3 separate regions of the Homo sapiens genome follow, and regions 1 and 2 are each linked to region 3. Evidence: promoter capture Hi-C in human tissues and cell types (Jung and others, 2019). All regions are on one chromosome and are shown on one strand. Each heading gives the region's core, a stretch centred on a gene start or on the middle of the fragment in contact. The rest is flanking DNA. Distances are from core to core; before and after follow the strand shown.

The links. The method cuts DNA at HindIII sites, captures the fragments that hold promoters and counts their contacts. A contact is called where the count stands out against the background at its distance.
Region 1: a fragment that was not itself captured here is called in contact with the fragment with the promoter of GNG11 in region 3 in 1 of the 25 tissues and cell types used here (mesendoderm cells).
Region 2: a fragment that was not itself captured here is called in contact with the fragment with the promoter of GNG11 in region 3 in 1 of the 25 tissues and cell types used here (H1 embryonic stem cells).

What each region holds. Positions count from the first base shown.
Region 1 is chr7:94,281,199-94,284,906 of GRCh38, forward strand. All of the region lies in intron 2 of LOC112267858 (a long non-coding RNA gene), which reads right to left. Among named protein-coding and RNA genes, the nearest start is that of COL1A2-AS1, 110 kb to the right of the region's middle. The HindIII fragment of the contact is 3,966 bases long and covers 196-3,708 here.
Region 2 is chr7:94,261,487-94,265,155 of GRCh38, forward strand. No RefSeq gene overlaps it. Among named protein-coding and RNA genes, the nearest start is that of COL1A2-AS1, 130 kb to the right of the region's middle. The HindIII fragment of the contact is 7,264 bases long and covers 1-3,669 here.
Region 3 is chr7:93,920,324-93,923,786 of GRCh38, forward strand. It overlaps GNG11 (G protein subunit gamma 11), which reads left to right and starts at 1,412. Exons shown (of 2, transcript NM_004126.4): 1 at 1,412-1,910. The coding sequence starts at 1,815. All of the region lies in intron 1 of LOC105375402 (a long non-coding RNA gene), which reads right to left. RefSeq lists an enhancer at 1,014-1,649. The HindIII fragment of the contact is 9,220 bases long and covers 1-3,463 here.

The sequences.
Region 1 (3,708 bases), core at 929-3,428, 360 kb after region 3:
GCAAAGGCAGGAAAAATCATTTCTCACATTGTCATCCAATGAATGACTGAACAATGCATCGTTTAAACAAAATCAGAGTCTTGCAGTTTCAAAATGCCAGTACCGTTTCTCCAAGCAGTTCCACGCTGGGTCTGTATTAATTCATTCAGACACACTAGGGGTAGACATTAAAATGAAAATAGTCTGAACCAGATTAGTCTCTCTATTGGAATAAAAAGGGGTCAATGGATCAAACTTGGAAGATATAATGTAGCATCCAGACAGAAGTAAGCCTTGTTAAGGTAGGATTTTTTAAGGAAACTGCTTACTTAGTTTTACCCTCCAGAATCCTTACTGTGATCATTTTCTGGGACCTGTTAAACTTAGGGCATCTATATTCTTTCTCTCATGCACCAATATTTATAGTTAATGTAGGATTCCTCCCATATGGCAGGCATCCTGACAGATCCTCAGGGGAACAACAGTGAACAAGGCAAGTCCCTGATCACACAAGCCAAGATCTAATAAACAATTAAATATGAGATCCTTTGAGATTTTGTGAATATGAAGAAAATTAATATTAAGAAAGTTAATATTAAGAGATATGAAGGAAGCAGGGTAATGTTGAGAAGGGTGCAACTACTTTTGTATTAGGTGGCCTGGGAAGATCTTTCTGAGTCAAGGGTGCCAATATTAGGACCTATAGCAGGAGCAGAAGCAGAAACAAGCCATGTGGTTTGCTGATGAGGAGGGTCTGAAAAGCATCAGGAAGAAAAAGGAGGAATCAGAGGAAATTGCCATGGTGAAGGAAATGCAACGGAGGAAGAGAGGGTGACCCCAGTCCAAGATGAGCTTGGGAGGTGGCAGGAACTGGTTTCTCCATGACTCTAAGGGACATGGGAAGGAAAGAGATACTCTCCCAAGTGCCCTAAAAGAAGCTGTAAAGGTTTTTATAAGCAAGAGGCAGTAACAACCTCAGGACTTCCTGAAAATGACAAGAGGGCTTTTTGAGATAACAGAGTCAGAACTCTGTAAGAGATCAAGTCCTCGCCATGAGGCAGGGGATATTCGGCCAGCATGGCTAAGAAGAGACATCTGGCTGGTTCGTACTGTGCCTCTGTGAGTCCCACATTACACGTTGCTGCTGCCACCCCCTCCCCGCTGTCCCTTCCAGCCACACCATCAGCCACTAGCCATGCCAGCCTCCTACAGAGGGTCATCTGTGCACCTGCCGGTTGGACAGTGCCTAAGTTCCTAGCCTTCATTAAGTCTCTTGCTTTCCTGGAATGAGCTTCTTCCTTGACCCACATGCTCCTCATTTCCTTGCTTTCTTCATGTCTCTGTGCAAATTTCACATCATCAGAGTGGATTTCTCAATCCAAAATAGCACTGCTTCTCCTTTTCTCTCTCATTCCCCCTTACTCTGCTTTACACAGCTTGTTTTTCTTCATAACAATAATCAGTACACGAGCTATTTATGTATCTCTCTATTTACTTATTGTCTGTAATAGAATACAGGTTGAGAATCTCTAATAAAAAAAAAATTTGAAATCCAAAATGCTCCAAAATCCAAAACATTTTGAGCACTAACATGATACCACAGTGGAAAATTCCACACTTGGTCTTATGTGATAAGTTGAAATCAAAATGCAATCCAAACCTTGTTTCATGCACAAATTTATTTTGAAATATTACATAAGATTACTTCCAGGCTCTGTATATAAGGTGCATAAGAAACATAGATGAATTTCGTGTTTAGACTTGGGTCCCATTTCTAAGGCATTTCATTAGGTATATGCAAATATTTTAAAATTCTAAAGAATTTGAAATCCCAAACACTCCTGGTCCCAAGCATTTCAGATAAGGGATACTCAACCTATATAAGCTTGTGGAGGGCAGACCCTGTGCCATTGTTGTGCATCCTCCACATCTGTCTTAGTGCCTTGCACATAGTAGGTGACTGATAAATATGTGCTAAATGAAAAGGAGCAGTCATCCCTTGTTCTTCTATACCTAAGAGCCCAGAATCTGCTGCAAGTGAAGCTTCTCAACAATCAGCATCTTCTACAGTGGAAGGCGGAGGAGAAGCCCTTTCTGGAAGGAAATTCATCTCCTACTTAGACAGTAAACTTAAAATAGGCTCTTCCTGTGCACACCCCACAGATGCTCCTTATAATTCCTCAACTTTCCCCACCAAGCAGTACCTCAGGAGCCTTACTGGCCAAGTGATTTTTGCCAGTATCTTCCATATATCAACCTAAAAAGACGTTTTTCTTGAAGAGAGGAAAAAATTGATATATAGCTTAGCAAGAAGTGGAAATTTTTACTATAGTTGGGTTAAAAGCAAAAAAAAAAAAAAAAAGGAAGCATACCAGCTAACCTCTGTCTATTATACTATGATTTTTCTCAAAGGCAGACACCAAATAGTTCACAAGGGCACCCATAGCGCCAGGCCACTTAGTAGGCTCTAAACATGTCTGTTGAATAACAAACACGGCAGTTGAAGGGATATAATTTATACCCATAAAAAATTAATTAGAGAGAAAGCCCAGTGTAATAGAAGTTTAAAGCCAGAGAGTTTCCACTTTATCAAAGCAAGCCCTTCAAACACAAGTTACACTCAAAGAAATAAGAGTTTGCCAATGCATAAGGCCTGCCTCCTCCAGGAAGCCTTTCCTAACTGCTTCAGTCTAAACTAGATTTCTACTGCTTTCAGAATTGCTGCCACACCTTATATTAGCACTTTTCCAATGCTTTAAAACAAGGACGGCTTCTCTCCAAAACTGTATCACATTTGAGAGTTAGGGCTGTATCAAATACTTCTTCTGCCAGCCCAGCTCCTGAAACCATGCTGGGAAGGCAAATGGTAGAGAGAATATTTTCTAGGCATGCTCTGGTTAATTAACAAACAACCTTTTTCCATTTTCATTTCTCTACTCCATAAGCAACTTAACTATGTTTTTCTATTCTTATTTGCATATTTACTTACAATGTCATCATGTTTCACATGTATATGTTCATTTTGCTTACACAAAATGAAGCTATTTTTCTGCAATCACAAGAATACTGTTAACACCCAGAGCCTAGAATTTCCCATCTGTTAGCAAATCTCACAACAAAGAGCCTTTTTGGAAGCGTAGTTAATCCTTTAAAGAGATGTATTTCACAACTCAACTCTTATCTGATGTCAACAGAAACATATTTTTGCAAAATGTGGCTCAGATGCAAGCGTGCTAAATTACTAGTTTAAAATACAGAAAGATGGAAAGGGTTGTGGGTAAATTTTACAAGGGAGAGTAGTCTAATTATCCAAAGCCTTTGAAACAGCCTTGAACCGCTGACCGTCCCCCATGCCCAGATTTGAAAGAGAAGAGCTTCCAATTAATTAATGCAGTCAACATTTTTCAAGACCCTTCTCTGGGGAAAAGCCTCTGCTGGAAGTTCAGTGAAGGGAGTTCCAGTGGGAAAGATAGAATTGAAAAGAAATAGAAGAATACAAGGAAGATGAATTATCTCTCTTCCTAGATCATTATTTCACTCTTTCTGTTCTCTCCCCAAACCTCTAAGCCTTTTCCCTGTCTCTCACTCTCAGCTGGACTGGCTTTTTACTTCACTCTGGAAAAAAGAAAAAAAAAGCGAGAATTTCCACAACCACTACCACCATTTTTACTACCAAATCTACCAAGATATTAGCATGTGGGCCCACCTACTCTGCATTCCCCACAATTA
Region 2 (3,669 bases), core at 734-3,233, 340 kb after region 3:
CTGCCATCCCCTTCCCAGCATTACAGGGCTCCTTGAGCTTCTGAGGTGTGGCCACAGCTTAGCACTCCTCAGAGGTCTGAGGACCAGCTCCACAAACAACAACCTTCTGCACCAAAAACAACTAGTTATAATAAAGGAAAGGAAAAAAATTATACATCTCCCCATCTTGTCACTCCTTTTTTCTCCTATCTTTTAAAATCCTTCTCTAACTGCTGTTGTTCCCTGGAAGCAGTTGAGAATATGTGCCCATGATGAGATTTTTATTTCAATTTTGAGAAGTATTCCTACTCCCTCAAAACCTCTTGGGAAGTTTCTGTTTTCATATTCAGTCAGAAACCAATGGGACAAAGAAGAAAACCAAACACAATGCAAAAGAGTTAAAGTTTAACTCAAATCCCAGAGCCTAAAGTTCTGTGATATTTTATCCAGATTCTCCACCCAATACATACTTACAAATGCAAATAAGACAAGACCCATCTCAAGAACCAGCATTTTAATGTCGTAGCTGAACAGCTGTTTCTTAACATACCATGTGTTATAAAGAGGTCTCACATATTTTTGCATCTTGTAGAAAACACGTTTTTCTACATCTCTGTAATTACGATGACAAAATACAGTTCTTTGTAGTTTTTTTTTTTTTTTTCCTTACAACAGGTTTTAACACAATGGGTTTCAAATTTGACTTTCTCTTGAGCATGTTCAGAGCACCCAATTCTGGTTTTGGGGGATCTGCAGTCAAGAAGTCAGGTCTGCATACCTAAACAGGAGCATAGCTACGAGCAAAAGGAAGGAATTTAATTAGTATCTGAACAAATTTTTTAAGAACATGGGTCACTAGTTACATCTGTTTATTTAAGCAAAAAATGGAATCTTGTGTGATTAGCTGATGAATTCAAAGCCAGCCTAAAATTGACCTTCTGAAGAGCAATTACTGTTTTCCCTAAAAGTTCTAGACCACCAGTAACATTGCCTAAAACTTCTAGGCCACTGTTTTCCCTAAAACATTAGGCCACCAGGAACACTCAGGACACCCACATGTCCATGAACTTGGAGTTGGTCTCACACAAGGGCACAGGCCAAAAACAATCACAGGAGTTCTTAATCTGATAGGGATGTGACATAGACGATCATGTAGGTAAGCTTATTATTACTAATGGCATTACAATCAACAATATTGTTCCATCCTCACAACAATGCTGAGCTGAGGTTCAGAAGGATTGAGTGACTTTCCAAAAATTCTACATCTAGTGAGTGGCAAGGTTGAGGTGCAGACTCAAATCTGACTCTGAATATTTGGCTCTTTCTATTAAGACTGTGGCACAGCACCCTAAGGATAATTTTATCTACAAAAGAATAAAATTAACTTTGTTTATCTTCACCTTCGTGAATCTTTCTCATTCTTTAAGACTCGGCTCACGTCCTACCTCCTTCAATAAGTCTACTTAATTATACTCAATCCATGTTCTCTCTATCCTCTGACGTCTATACAACATATTCCTTGCCTGGATTGGCAATCATCTTGTCACAGGGATATTGTCACTTCCACAACCAGGTATTACACTTCTTTATAGTTTCTAAAATGCCTAGCATGTAAAGACATAATAAAAAACTCAAAAATGCTTTACTAACTGGCTCATTGATTCGTTGCCGGTTTTATCCAAAATCATTTTAAATGTCTCCTCCCACCTTCAGCCCTTTTTTTTTTAGTAGAGAGAGCCTGGATTTTTTTTGTTTTACCATTTTGGCCTTCTAATTTACCAGTTGGTTTTGCAAGATTCTACCTTGTTTGCATGTGTAGACTTAACCCACAGGTAATATTCAAAAAGTTAGAAATTATTACTTTGAGATACTAACCAATCAGAATGAAGGAGGGTACTAGAGGCCATTTATGGTGTCAAGTTGACAGTTTGTAGGTGAGGCCAAGGAATTTAAGATGGCCAGGATGGCCAGAATGACTAGGAGGTAACTGCTAGTCTAAGGGGGTGTAAGGAAAGTCTTCTCTACTAAATACTTCTCATGAAAGCATTTCAATAGTTTAACAACTGATATGACTGGACTGGTGAAAATTATTCGTTATCAACCTTGGCCTGGCTCCATAATCTTCAAATGCAGCAATTGCCAATAGGAAAAATTAAACAGCTACCAGGCACAGTCTGAAGCAGACTAAATCCCCACTCTTTTGTATGTAGGTTTTTTAAAAACAAATAGGATTCCCATCTCTTCTCCCAGCCTTGTGTAGCTAGGACTTACATACACTTTAGAATTAATTGAACAAAAAACTAGCAGGATTTTGTTTCTAAACTGCAGCTTGAAGTAATTTATTTGAGGATTACCTAATGGCACTTGGCTTTTGAATATTAATATTTATCATTTCCTATGCTTTCATTAATCACACAAACAGTATTATGAATAGTATTTATTTGTACTATACCTTATTTCAAGAAAAATACTTAAGAAAATTCAAAAAAGATATAATGCAGCAAAGTAGAATATATTTGTTATAAGTGAGATGAATCGAATAAAGTTAAATAAGAAAAGATAGAATTAGGAGTGATATTAGTATACAAAATACTTGCTATAAAGTCTGATAAACTTGCAAAATGTGAACTATGTGTATGGCGTGAATCTTTCTAGCAGATAAAATGCAGAGGGAAGCATCTGTTATAAAATACTGAGAATCTGCTAGAAAAAAACAAACCAATTGCTCAAAGAAACCCACTGATTCATTCTCCTGAGACTGCTATCAAAAATGACGCTGTTTGCTTAAAATGGAATTCCACCCAACTATTTTCTTTAATAGAAAATTTGATGTAAAAAACTAATAAACAAAGTGCCTTACTTTTGTGGGTTTTCTACTTAAGTTGAACTTAGTTTATTCAAGCCTCTCTTCTCCCAAAAAGTTCCACAAATGATCCAAACTCTTCTCAGTAAATATCAGTTTTGCAATATTTAATACGAGGCTAAGCAGTCTGAGTAAAATGACCACATTAGAAGTATTTGTTAAATTGTTAAAATCTGAGTAAAATAGACATGAATTTATATAACATGAATTTATATAACATGTCTTGGATACCCTAAAAGAAAACAATAGTCAAAATGTCAAGGACAAGCTCAGACCTTGTAAACATACTGCAGCCTTGACAACCTGAGACCTAGAATCCCATTTTGAACAATTATTATACTAATAGGCCCATTTGATTTGAAATTCAATTTATGTAGCTCTTAATTCTAAGCAACTCCACTATGGGAGAGCCTTTTATACTATACATTTGGGATATGTTCCTTTGTGTTTCTGTAAGAGAAGAGATGCATTTTAGAACATTTTATGATAAATTGATGTAATTGGCTTTAGTGATTCAGAGACAGCACTCATTTCTGAGGCATTTATGAAAAATGCATATTAAAAAGCAGAATTGCTCTCTCCATGTCCCAAGAGGCTTCTCAGGGGAAATTGGAAGGTGTGATTTCTTTCAGCCATCCAATCATGTTCTCTTTTCTCATTCAATATGTTAAGCCAGGGAAACACAAAGAGTGATAATGGGGACAAAGTTGGAAAAGACATGGGCTTACAGCATCACCATCACCACAGCCCCTGAAAGGTCAGTGCACAGCAACCAAAGGCCAGTGACTGGTATTGCAATGCCTGGAAGACATGCAGTTAATGTGAGG
Region 3 (3,463 bases), core at 162-2,661:
TATTTACAAGTAAACTTCAGTAGATGCTCTAACTACTCTGAGCTTGGAAAACCCTGGTATTTCAAATATTGAAAGTGAAGCTCTTAAACATTTTCTTTGTGAAAATGATTTATCATATATAGACATACCAACACAATTAGAGACACAACATAGCTTAGCTGATTCACTACTTCCCTGCCTTACTATACATTTTACAAATTAGAAAACCAAAACTAAGAAAAATTAAATGACTTCTTCAGTGATGGCCTGTGGCAGAGCTGCAACTACACGCCAGGAGTATTCATTAAGTGGTTCATTGTTTTTTTCATTCTAATTTATTCATTGAGGTTGAGCGGAGCGTGGTAAGAAACTAGGAACGAACAAAAACTCCTGCTTCCTAAACAGGGAATGGTCATGGGTGTCTTGGGTCAGCTACTCTGAAATATTAAGTTAATATTTCACTTGCCTTTGACTCTGTGAGGCAGGAGGTTATCTCTGGAAAGAAAGAGAAATATCCAACTGCTAGGGAAGGTTTCTTACATTCATGTTTGATTTTTCTTCTACTCTTTTGACCACCATCAACAAGACTTTAGTTACAGTTAAAGGGAAAGTTTTATTGCATGTAAACTTTTTTCACATCGGACACTTTTCCTGGCTTTCCAGAGCAACAGCTAGATAAATAGTGCTTGCCAGAAAGTGGAGAAACTAATACTAAATGAATCCACTGCCTACATCCAGGAAGGTTCAGGAGCCAGGAATTCAAAATCCTTGGTGTCAAGTGTCACCCAAAACTTAGGGTTGGGGAGTGGAGAAAGGCTTTCGGTTAAGAACTCTAAGATTCCTGCTTCTGTCTTCTCTTATATCATCCTTTGATGCACCCCTCTACATAACATTCCCCCGGAAAAATAAAAAAAATACAAACTCTGCTGCTGTTGAGGATGCAGATGATTATTTAATAATAGAAAATGTTCTTGCAACTTGTAAACGATATTCACACCCTGTTGCCCCCTCCTCGCCCAAAATGTATAAACCCATATTAGGCCTCGAACAAGCCGGATGGACACAAATGAGCAGAACACTGGTGGGTATTTCTGGGATTAGGGCTAAGCTTCATTTTCTTTTCAGCCTTTTCTTAAGCGTCCGCATTCTCCACTATGCATTTATTACGTTGGTGCAAAACTAATTGCACCAACCTATATATGTAATTAGAGAAAAGTAATTACTTTTGCAACAACCTATGTATGTAATTAGGGAAAAGCTATATCTAGCATATTTTTAAAACTCTTTGAGAGGTGAAGGGTAGTTATTTCCTGCTGGGTAGTGTACTCCTTTTCCTAGCTTCACAAACAAAACCCGGATGTGACTTGGAAACGGAAAAAAAAAAAGGAGCGGGGGTGCGCGGAGAACACAAAGTAAAACTTCTGCTGTTCCCAGTCCTGCAGCCCCAGCCCAGCCGTCCCCCGCGGGCGTGGCAGGTCCTGAGTCAGGGCCTGTCCGTGGCCAGCATCCCTGCTGGGCGATTGAGCAGCGGGAAGCTGCTTGGACCCAGTCTCAAACTTAACCCTCATCTAGCACCCGGGCAGGCCTCCTGGGTTGCAGGGACTTGAGAAAAGGCAGAGTTCTCAGGTCCTAGGAAGCTGGGGCACGCTGGCGTGACAAGCGTCCCGGAGAAAGCCAAGCCCTCGGGGAGCTGGGGACCGCAGCAGGGCTGCAGTCACATCCTGCGCGGGTGGGCGGCGGGCCAGGCCTTCAGTTGTTTCGGGACGCGCCGAGCTTCGCCGCTCTTCCAGCGGCTCCGCTGCCAGAGCTAGCCCGAGCCCGGTTCTGGGGCGAAAATGCCTGCCCTTCACATCGAAGATTTGCCAGAGAAGGAAAAACTGAAAATGGAAGTTGAGCAGCTTCGCAAAGAAGTGAAGTTGCAGAGACAACAAGTAAGTTGGCTGTTCCGGAATATTTCCTTCTCTGAAATGAAGCAGGGTCCGATTTTTCCTGCTTAGTAACAGTAAAGCAAATAGTTTAGCTTATTTTTCCCCCTTTTTGTAGCTTCTCTTCTCACCACCCTTTGGCAGTGCCTGGGGACTGCCAGCTGATGTGGGGAAATCCTAGGAGGTAGAGGAGGGAGCAAGGATCTGATAAGTAATTTAAGGCCAAATGTCCTAACTTTTAAGATGCCTAGGAAGGGGAAAATAGACAAGAAATCTTGCTTTCCATTAGACAGCTGTTTTTCAAAACTCACTTGTAGGAAAAAAGCGGATAGCTACTTGGTTCTTTGATCTTTTACACTACTAGAAAGGATGATATTTGAAAGAAATTTTCTAAAACCGTATTTTAAAGTCTTACAAGTACATTATTTAATTTTGAATTTCACCAGTGGCCTTCAGTGATATGCAAAGAACAGTCCACCGAAATTTGGGAACAAAATATTAGAATTTCTATATTTATTTGTAAATCTCATCCCTTTATAATTTTCACTTTATGTTTTATTAGTATGCGATTAATACAGTAGTATCTGTACTTATTTATAAATAATTATACATACACTGTGGTGCATATGAAAAATTTTTTTAGTGATCACAATTTTAAAGTTTTAGAGACTATTGATAGAGATTACCATTTCATTGAGAACATATGACCCAGTATTCAATATTCTCCACTGAAACGTCTCGGGAGTTTTATAAGTTTTACTTCAATTTCTTACTGGTCATCAAGACCTTCCTTCAGACACTAATCCCTCTTCCTGTTTTAACTCAATCAGGCATCCTGTAGACTAGGAAAGGTCTTTGAATAGATATTGTTTAAAGATAATTAACCTTTCCTCTTCAGCAAGAAAATTTTGAACTGATCTTATTTATTATGGTTTAGCACTAGAAAAAATTAAGAAAAACAATGGAAATGAAGCGTTATAATATGCTCACTTGCCTTCCTGTTCTAGTTATAATAAATCTGTTAAGGGCAAGAGTCTTCACTGTTGAGTGATGATTAGAAGATGCAGGCATTTTTGTGTTTTACTTTTTACATATTTCTTTTCTCAAATTTAACCTTTCACATCCAAATCCCGGCTCTTCCTAGCTTTTATAATGAGCTGTCCCTTCTATCATGTTAAGGGTTTGTAGCTTTAAAAACACCAACGCGTTTAAAGGGGAAAAAAAGGAAGTTACACTACCCAATCAATAAGCACGCTTCTTGAAACCTTAAGGGACCCATTTTATGGATGGCGAAGTTCCCAGTACAGCAAGTGCTGGCCACTTAGATATGTTCACACAATAAACCTTAGGAGTTACATATTAAACAGAGTTTCATATGCTGAAGTACAGCATTGTCTATGCAAGGTTCTAATATCTTAATATTTGGTATCACTGTGTAGAACTTAGGAAAAAAGACAAGCGTCTTCTACTTACTCAGAGTTTTAAGTTAAGTGATGTGGATGCAACCGACTATGTAAAAATTGACTGTATCATTCATTAGCAGTTTCTCCCTGCTAGCC